Linked DNA regions of Homo sapiens: region 1 is linked to region 2. The links are contacts of gene promoters, found by promoter capture Hi-C in blood cells and fetal thymus (Javierre and others, 2016). All regions are on one chromosome and are shown on one strand. The core of a region is centred on a gene start or on the middle of the fragment in contact, and the rest is flanking DNA. Distances in the headings are between cores, read along the strand shown.

Evidence for each region. Contacts are between HindIII fragments. The CHiCAGO score rates a contact against its expected background, and 5 or more counts as called.
Region 1: a contact is called between the fragment with the promoter of N4BP3 here and the fragment with the promoter of TMED9 in region 2, in 8 of 17 cell types (naive CD8 T cells, non-activated CD4 T cells, total CD4 T cells and 5 more). The highest score is 11.5, in naive CD8 T cells.

Annotation. Positions count from the first base shown.
Region 1 is chr5:178,110,398-178,115,480 of GRCh38, forward strand. N4BP3 (NEDD4 binding protein 3) reads left to right here and starts at 3,135. Exons shown (of 5, transcript NM_015111.2): 1 at 3,135-3,374. RefSeq lists silencers at 2,875-3,424, 3,505-3,824, 4,175-4,224, 4,835-4,944 and enhancers at 4,263-4,776, 4,305-4,364. The HindIII fragment of the contact is 16,661 bases long and covers 1-5,083 here.
Region 2 is chr5:177,588,485-177,593,452 of GRCh38, forward strand. TMED9 (transmembrane p24 trafficking protein 9) reads left to right here and starts at 3,719. Exons shown (of 5, transcript NM_017510.6): 1 at 3,719-3,914; 2 at 4,091-4,191. The coding sequence starts at 3,731. RefSeq lists an enhancer at 4,924-4,968. The HindIII fragment of the contact is 2,414 bases long and covers 2,732-4,968 here.

The DNA.
Region 1 (5,083 bases), core at 1,885-4,384, 520 kb after region 2:
CACTGCACCCAACCCAGAATCTGAGTTTTCATCAGAACTTAGCTGTGACCTCTCTCTCTCTTCCTCATGCCATTTCTTGCAAGTGGATTCTTATAAGAACCTTCATTCAAACCCTCTCATAAACATCTCTATCACTGTCTCTCCCACTCAGTTGACAGAATGAACACCTTCTCGGCAGCTTCCAGCTTCCAGGTCCTCCTTGGCCCCATTTCTTTCCCTAGAGACCCAGGGGACCCGACCTCCCTGCCTGCCTGTGCCACCTCACAGGCCCCACGTCCAGCTGCGTGCACAAGCTCCTCTCTCTCAATGCTTCGGAGGCTCCCAGCGCCCACTTCAAGAGGCTTCTCTGGGTCTGCTCTCGGTTGCCACCTTCGTCCCTTCCCACCACTAACCTTTCCCACCCAGGGCTTGGACCTTGCTAGCAAGCTGAACGTGCCCTGCCTTCTCTAGCCCTGCTATCTGCTCTGCTGGGAACACTCCTCAGTGGAAATGCTTCCAGGACCATCTCAAAAACCATTGCTCCAGTGAGGCCTTTCCTTGGGTCCCCCAAACAGCCAAACAGGTTCTTGCTCTGAAACTTTATCTGTCCCAGTGAGTAACCCTACCAGACTGGCTCCTCAAGGGCTGAGACCCACAGCAGCTATTAATGAGTTTTCTTAGACAAGTATTCTGAAGTCTGGCAGTTCTATTAGAAATTCTGGCCGGGCGTGGTGGCTCACGCCTGTAATCCCAGCACTTTGGGAGGCCGAGGCAGGTGGATCACCTGAGGTCGGGAGTTCAAGACCAGCCTGACCAACCCCGTCTCTACTAAAAATACAAAATTAGCCGGGCATGGTGGCACACACCTGTGCCAACCAGCTACTCGGGAGGCTGAGACAGAAGACTCGCTTGAACCTGGGAGGGGGAGGTTGCAGTGAGCTGAGATCACGCCATTGCACTTCAGCCTAGGCAACAAGGGTGAAACTCCATCTCAAAAAAAAAAAAAAGTTGCCGGGCGCAGTGGCTTATGCCTGTAATCCTAGCACTTTGGGAGGCCAAGGGGGGGTGGATCACGAGGTCAGGGGATCGAGATCATCCTGGCTAACATGGTGAAACCCCATCTCCACTAAAAATACAAAAAATTAGCCGAGTGTGGTGGTGGGCACCCGTAGTCCCAGCTATTTGGGATGCTGAGGCAGGAGAATGGCGTGAACCCGGGAAGCGGAGCTTGCAGCGAGCTGAGATCGCACCACTGCACTCCAGCCTGGGCGACAGAGCAAGACTCCATCTCAAAAAAAAAGTTCTTTCAGCCAGGCATGGTGGCTCACGCCTGTACTCCCAGCACACTGAGAGGCTGAGGCAGGCAAATCATTTGCCTTAATTGATTTGCCCACCTCGTCTTCCCAAAGTGCTGGGATTACAGGCGTGAGCCGCCATGCCTGGCCAGAAGTTCTTCCTAGAGGTTCTATGCTGTCCTAGCAAGAATTGGTAAGAACAGCATAGAACACAAGGGGTTGCAAATTTGTGGGCCGTAGACCAAATCTGTTCCACAAGTGACAAGATGTTTTTTAATTGAGGTAAAATGTGCATACCATAAAATTAGCCGTTTTAAAGCAAACAATTCAATGACATTTGTATATTCATAACGTTGTGCAACCACCACCTCTGTCAGGCTCCAAAACATTTTCCTCATCCCAGAAGGAAACCCTATGCTTGTTAGGCAATCACTCTGCCTTTCTCTCTCCCCACAGCCTCTGGCTCTAATCTGCTTTCTGTTTGTCTGGATTTACTTATTATAAATGGCATCATTAACACATGTGGGCTTTGTGTCTGGTTTCTTTCACTTGCCATGTTTTGGAGGTTTATCCATGTTGTAGCAGGTATCATCAGTGTTTCATTCCTCTTTTTCTTTTCTTTTCTTTCTTTTTTTTTTTGAGACAGGCTTACGCCATCATCCAGGCTGGAGTGTAGTGGCACAATCTCCGTTCATTGCAACTCTGCCTCCTGGGTTCAAGCAATTCTCCTACCTTAGCCTCCCGAGTAGCTGGGATTACAGGCTCGCTCCACCATGCCTGGCTAATGTTTGGTGTTTTTGGTAGAGATAGAATTTCGCCATGTTGGCCAGGCTGGTCTCAAACTCCTGACCTCAAGTGAGCCGCCTGCCTCGGCCTCCCAAAATGCTAGGATTACAGGGGTGAGCCACCACATCAGGTCTTTTTTTTTTTAAGATAGAGATGGAGTTTTGTGAGTTGCCCAGGCTGTTCCTGAACTCCTGGCCTCCAAAAGTGCTGGGAGAGTTCAGACATGAGTCATCACATGGCGTTCATTTCTTTTTTATGGCTGAATAATATTCCACTGAATGGATCTACCATTGTTTGCTTACACCCTCATCAATTGTTAGTTTGGGCTGTTTCCACCTTTTGGCTCTTTGACTATTGTGACTAGTACTGCCAAGAACATTACTTGTTTGAGGACTATAATTGCCGGATCATATGGTAACTCTATGCTTAACTTTTGAATTAGAAACGGTGTTTTAATTTTTCGAATATGACTCCTTTACGTGTCTGTGTCTGTTTCCATGTCTTCCTACTGTCTTAGTAGGAAGCTCACGACTCATTTGCGTAATTTTTCTGGCCCCTGAAGGCACCTGATTTTGCTGCCCCTAGAATACTTTGGAGGCAAAAAGAAAATAACTCTGTGCCCAATTCAGCCAGAGTCGTGGGGTAAAATCTTTTCACTTCTCAAAGTACTACTGTGGTTCATCCCCAAAGGGGGGAAATCAGGTTTTCCGGAGAGGAGGCGGCTACAATTAGGGAGGTGAGGGACCTCACGCGCCTCTTCCTTAGAGGAGGCGGGCGAGGCGAACGGCGGAGGAGGAGAAGCGGGGGCGCTGTGCGCTCTCTGGGGCGTGGGCCGCGCTCGGGGCTGCCCACCCCTCGGGAACGAGCCGGGGCGCTCAAGGAGGCAGCGACGCGAGGCGCAGCCGGTCCAGGTTTCGCCCGCCACCGCCGTGCGGCGCCTCTGCGGGTCAGGGCCGGGGGCGCGGTCGGGGCCGGGCGGGGCCCAGGTTGGCTCGCGGGTAGGCGGCCCCGCCCCCCACATCCGGGGGCCGGGGCCGGGCTGTGGGCTTGCCGCGCGCCGGTGAGTCAGGCCGGGTTTTCCCTCCGCCTTTGGGGCAGGCGATCGAGCGCCGCGGAGCGCGTCCCTCCCTCGCCAATCCGGCTCCGGCGCCGGCGCCCGCCCGCGTTTTCCCGGCGCCTGCCGCTCCGCCGCTCCGACCCGGCACGCAGTCCCGGCCCGAGCCGACGCCTTGCAGGAGGGTTCAAATCCGCGCGGGGGAGCTGCGACGCGCAAGGGCTGCGGAGCCGCGGGCCGGCGAGCGCGTCGCCACCATGGTAAGTGGGGCGCGCGAGGGGCTGGGGACCCGGGCTGGACTCGGGGGGTGGGGAGGGGTGGGGCGGGTCGCCAAGGTCTTGTTTTCGGGCGTCCTTGGCAAAGCTGCTGTCCCGCTGGCCGAGGCTCCCGTCTGAGAGATGGGCGGGGGTGGCAAGGTGCGGCGTGCGCCCAGGTGTCCCCTGCTCCCGGTCACCGAGGCACCGGATCGGGGACCGACCCCGATGCTCCGCTGGAGGGGCAGGCGGCAGGCTACCTTGCTCTCCCCAACCCCTGCAAACGCGCTTTCCAGGGAGCAGCGCGCGGGACCCCTGCGCCACGGCTGGGTGGGGCAGGCGTCCTTGGCGCCGGCGTCTGACCTCGGCCTCCGCCCCCCGGCCCAGCCGCTCCCGGCAGGCCTCAGGGAGGGGCCAGGAGGAGACGCGCCTCCCACCCCGCCCCCCAGGTAGCTCCGGGACCTCCCGCAGCTTTGGGGAACCCTCGCCTTCACCCCTGCTTTCCTGACACAAATTCCGTGGGGATGCAACCTCGTTTGCCCCTCTGACTTCCCCATGAGATCTCTCGCTTCCTCCCACACCTCCTTTATCCCCCAACCCCCTGCCGGTCCACCAGGCTGCAGCTGCGGGTCTGCGGGTAGGGGACATTCCTAGGTCTTGACCGCCAGAGCACCCGGTCCAGTCCCGGCCACAGCCTTTGGCCCAAGTGAGGGCTGGCCTGGGGACAAGCCGAAATCAGGGCCCTGGCTGTATCCAGAAAGAGAACTGAGACCCGTTGCCTCCCACTGGGCCACCCCCCGACCCCAACCACATAGGAACAGATTGGGCCTGGCTGTCCTCGGGAGGGAGCGGACGCAGGAGGCCATCCTGGGCGCGGTTATCAGCCTCCTCCCAGGGCCCTCCCAGGCAGGGCTTCTCTACCGGCTGGCAGCGTGTGGTGTGCATGTGCCAGACTGTGAATGAATGCGGCCAGCCTGCCTCTGCCACCGCCTCTAGAGCTAGCATAGCGACTCGGAGTCCCCATGAGGCAGGTTTCCTCTATTTCTTCCTGACCTGGGGGGCAGCAGGAGGGATTCCAGGCCTGGTGGACCGCAGTCTAGGGCAGCCTGGTTGCAAGTGTCCTTGGGAGAAACAGGCATGGAGGGCTGGGCAGACATATATGCAATACATACACAGCAGTGTGTGCCCATGGAGGGGAACCCGTGACCCCTGGCTTAGGACAACCTGCTGAGGTAGAAAGGACCTTGCCCAGGGAGTTGAGATTGCTTCTCACTGTGGGATCTTGGATAACTCACCTCGCCTTCCGAGGCCTCAGTTTCCCGATCTGTAAAATGGCGTGAGGGTAATTACTGTCCTGTTTGCCCCCACGAGGCTATTGTGGAGATGAAATGAGATAATGAAATAGAAGGGCTGAGAAAAAACTGTAGACTGCGGTGCAGCCGTGAAGCACTATATGGTGATACTAAGCACCACTTCCGCAGGCTTTAGCCCCTGTCTCTGCCTCAAGTGTCTGTCACAGAGGGGATGGGGTGGGCCAGCCTCTCCCAGCCCCTCTCTGGGCCCCCCTTGCCTACTACCCCCCCCTTTTGGAGCTGGGACATTCCAGTCCCATTCCTTAGGGGCAGCTGCAGACACGCCCCTTAGCAGAGCTGATCCCCCAGCAGGTGGTGGGACCTTTCCCTGGGGCCAGGGCTCAGGAGGGGCTGACTGTAGCC
Region 2 (4,968 bases), core at 2,469-4,968:
GAAGGATCATAAGAGAATAATTCCACGGACAACTTTACATACATATGTGGGGGTGTGTGCTGCAGACCTCAACTCAACGACAGATGAATAATGTACACTGACACAGATATTCTGCTTGTCAGTCAGGCCGATTGTCCAGGCCCCCTACAGACTCCCAGGAGAGTGCTGTACATTTGCAACGTGGCCCCGACTCCCCGCCTCCTACTCGCTGGCCTTCTCGTCATTTACTTAGCACACATTAAACACAGCAAAAGTCTCAAGTAAACACCATTAGAGGGTAATCAACCTGGTCGCCTTCCCCTGCCTCCCCCAGAGCGCCATCCTGCCCGCGAATGATTAAAGGTTACTTTTAGAACCACATGAGTAAACAAGCTATTTAGATAGACTCCTCTACATTCCTATGTTACTTACCCTTGCTATGGCTCAAAGAGGATTAGGCCGCTTTCAGCCAAACTATCTGAAGCTAAGCAAAAACCTTTTGGCCTTCCAAGTTTTGTGTTTTATTGTATAATTTTCCCCACCATCCTGACTGAACCTCTACATACATAAATGTAACAATTTAGGCAAAATAGATCAATTACTCAAAAAGCACACACTATCACAACTTACTAGTATGAAATAGATACTTTGAATAGCCCTATAGCTATTAAGGAAATTTAATTCATAATTAAAACACTCCCCAAAAGGAAATTTCAAGGCCCAGATGATTACACTGGAGCATTCTACCACACTTTTGTTTTTTTTTTTGAGATGGAGTTTCACTCTTGTTGCCCAGGCTAGAATGCAAAGGTGCCTTCTCAGCTCACCAAACCTCTGCTTCCCAGGTTCAAGTAATTCTCCTGCCTCAGCCTCCCGAGGAGCTGGGATTACAGGCATGTGCCACCACACAGGCTAATTTTGTATTTTTAGTAGAAACAGGGTTTCTCCATGTTGGTGAGGCAGGTCTCGATCTCCTGACCTTGTGATCCTCCCGCCTCGGTCTCCCAAAGTGCTGGGATTACAAGCGTGAGCCACCGTGCCCGGCCAAAGTTGACTGTTTTTAACTGTACACTTCAGTGGGATTAAGTACATTATATTGCCATAGAACTCTCACCACCATCCATCTACAGAACTCTTTTTATCTTGGAAAACTGAAACTCTATACCTATTAAACAATAACTTCACTCTCCCTGTCCTCCAGTCCCTGGCAACCACCATTCTGCTTTCTGTCTCTGTGATTTTGACGACTCTAGTACCTCATATACATGGAATTACCCAGTATTTATCATTTTATGTCTGGCTTAGTCCACTTAGCGTAATGTTTCTTCAAGATTCATCTATGTTGTAGCATGTGTCAGAATTCCCATCCTTTCTAAGGCTGAAAGGATTTCCATTGTGTGGATGTACCATATTTTGCTTATCTATTCATCTACTGATGAAGAACTGGGTTGCTTCCATTTTTTTTTTTGCTTGTGAATAATGCTGCTGTGAACATATGTGTACAAATATCTCTTTGAGACCCTACTTTTAATTATTTTGAGGATATCTCTAGATATGGACTTGCTGAATCATATGGTAATTCTATTTTTATTTATTTATTTTGAGACAGTGTCTTGCTTTGTCACCCAGGCTGGAGTGCAGTGGCATGATCACAGCTCACTGTAGCCTTGACCTCCCAGGCTCAAGCAATCCTCTTGCCTCAGCCTCCTGAGTAGCTGGGACTACAGGCGCATGCCACCAGATCCAGTTAATTTTTGTATTTTTTGTAGAGATGGGGTTTCGTCATGTTGCCCCGACTGGTCTCGAACTCCTGGGCTCAAGCAATCCTCCTGCTTCTGCCTCCCAAAGCGCTGGAATTATAGGCGTAAGCCACCATGCCCAGCCTATTTTCACTTTTTTGAGGAATCATTATACGGTTTTCCACAGTGTCTGTACCATTTTACATTCCCACCAACAGTGCACAAGGGTTCAATTTCCCCACATCCTTGCCAATGCTTGTAGTTTCTTTCTTTTCCTTTTTTTTTTTCTAGTGGCCATCTTAATGGGTATATGACGTAGTATCTCATTGTTCTTTATCTCATTGTGATTTGTGTTTCTCTAATGATTAGTGATGTTGAGTATCTTTTCATGTGCTCACTGGCCACTTGTTGATCACTGGAGAAATGTCTATTCAAGCCCTTTGTTGTGGTTTTTGAATGAGATTGTTCTTATTTTGTTGCTGAGTTTTAGGAGTCTCTGCATATTCTGGATATTAATCCTTTGTCAGATATATGATTTGCAAATATTTTCTTCCATTCTGTGGGTTGCCTCTTTACTCTGCTACAGAGTCTTTTGATGCACAAAATGTTTTAATTTTCATAAAGTCCAATTTGTCTATTTTTTCTTTTGTTGCCTGTGCCTTTAGTGTCATATCCAGGAAGTCTGTTGCCAAATCCGATGTGGTAAACCCTTTGCCATATGTTTTCTATGAGTTTTATGCTTTGGGATTTTAAAAGTTGTGGGTCTTTTTGGGTGAATTTTTATCTATGGTGTTAGAGAAGGAACCACCTTCACTTTTTTGCATGTGGATATCCAGTTTTCCCAGCACCATTTGTTAGAAAGACTGTCCCTCCTCCCCGCATTGAATGGGCTTGGTCTCCTTGTTAAAAATTATTTGACCATATATGGGAGGGCATATCTTGGGGCTCTCTATTGTATTCCATTGGTCTATATGTCTGTCTATATGCCAGTACCACACTGTCTTGATGACTGAAGCTTGGAAGTAAGTTTTGAAATCAGGAAGTGTGAGTTCTTCAGCTTTATTCTTATTTTTCAGGATTGTTTTGGCTAATCGAAATCCCTTGAGAGTATATGAATTGTAGAATGAGTTTCTCTGTTTCTACAAAAAATGTCATTGGGATTTTGACAGGAATTGCATTAAATCTGTAGATTGCTTTGGATAGTATTGACATCTTAACTATATTAAGTAAGGATGATTTTTTTTAAATTACTGATTCAATCTCCTCACTAGTTATAGGTTTATTCAGATTATATTATCTATTCTGAGTCAGTTTTGCATTTCTATGAATTTGTCCATTTCATCTACGTTATCCAATTTGTTGGCTTATATTTGCTCATAGTACTCTCTTATGATCCTTTCTATTTCTGTAGAATTGCTAGTAACGAGCCATTGCAGTTGGGATCTGGCAGCAGAGGCTGTGTGTGTGTTTGTGTGTGTGTGTGATCGGAGAAATGCTTGAGAGGGTAACACCCGATTTAGGAGTGGACAGGGTATGAGGACAAAGAAGTGGTAATGGGAGACCTTGCCTTTTATTTCTTTTAATCTTTTTTGATAATACATTTGTGCATTATTTGGTCGTTCTCTTTAAATTCATTTTTAAAGGTAGAAGCAAATCAAGACTGGTAGATGCTGTGCCAAGGAAAGTCAGGGATCCTAGGTTCGAATCCTGTCTCTGTTCGCAATTCGCTCCGCAACCTCAAACAAACGACCTCAGTTTCATCTATGAAAAGCTGGTAACCATCGTCAGTTGCCAGGCCATGAAGAGAGTCAACGGAAATAAGTTTTTATTCTAGGGCACCCGCTCTCTCTCAGGTAAAAGCCGCGCCCCAATCAGGTACTGCCGCGCCAGGGCCGCGGGACATCTCGGGATTTGTGGTCCACCCGGCGGAACTCGCGGTCCCGGCAGGCACCGCGGCGGCGGCAGGGCGACGTGGCGCGGCCGGCTGCGGCTGCGCAGGCAGGTGGAGCAAGATGGCTGTGGAGCTGGGCGTGCTGCTCGTCCGGCCCCGGCCCGGAACCGGGCTGGGTAGAGTGATGCGGACCCTCCTGCTGGTGCTGTGGCTGGCGACGCGCGGAAGCGCGCTCTACTTTCACATCGGAGAGACGGAGAAGAAGTGCTTTATTGAGGAGATCCCGGACGAGACCATGGTCATAGGTGCGGGGGCGGGGAGGAAGGGGCGAGTTTGGAACGTGACCGTGGTCTTGGGGCGGGGGATGCGAGACAGTCAGCTCTCTAGAGCCGGGAGGAGACGGCCTCGCCGTGCCCAGGCGGTCGCGGAACCCATGCCACCTCGCGCTCCTCTGACCTGGGCTCGCCCTGCTTCCCTCAAGGAAACTACCGGACGCAGCTGTATGACAAGCAGCGGGAGGAGTACCAGCCGGCCACCCCGGGGCTTGGCATGTTTGTGGAGGTGAAGGACCCAGAGGACAAGGTGAGCCAACCGCCCCCCTCCTCTCCGCCAGCCTCTCAGCTAGGCGGGCTCCGGTACTTCCTCTTCTAGTTCCTGCATCTGCTAAAGTGGGAGAGACAGTTGATGTTGTGGGAATATCCTGCTGACTTGCAGACCCCGCCCGGTCTGTGAAATGGGCGGATTAATTGTGGTGATAAAAATCAAAGAGTTTTGTCAACTCTTAAAGTCATCTAGACTTTAAGATTTCACAGAACATGATACTTTCCCCACAAAATGAGCAGCTTTTAATCTTCCCAAGTAAGGATATTAAAACGAACGGCAAAACCCTTCAGCTCTCACCTTCTGTCACTTTTCGTTAAAAAACTCATGGCGGGGTGTGGTGGCTCTTGCCTGTAATCCCAGCACTTTGGGATGCCGAGGCGGGTGGATCACTTGAGGCCGGGAGTTCAGGACCGGCCTGGGCAACCTCCGTCTGGCAAACCCCGTCTCTAGTAAAAATACAAAAAAAAAAAAAAAAAAAAATGAGCCGGGTGTGGTGGCGCACACCTCTAATACCAGATACTTGGGAGGCTAAGGCACGATAATTGCTTGAACCTGGGAAGCTGAGGCTGCAGTGAGCTGAGATAGCATCACTGCACTCCAGCCAGGACGACAGAGTGAGACTCTGTCTCAAAAACAAAAACAAAAAAGAACCCCCCAAAAAACAACTCACACCAAAAAAGTTGAAAGGGCATAAGCTATAAAGGAAAGCCCTTCCCAAGAGCAGTCAGTCACTTGCCACCCTAATGTCAGACTCTC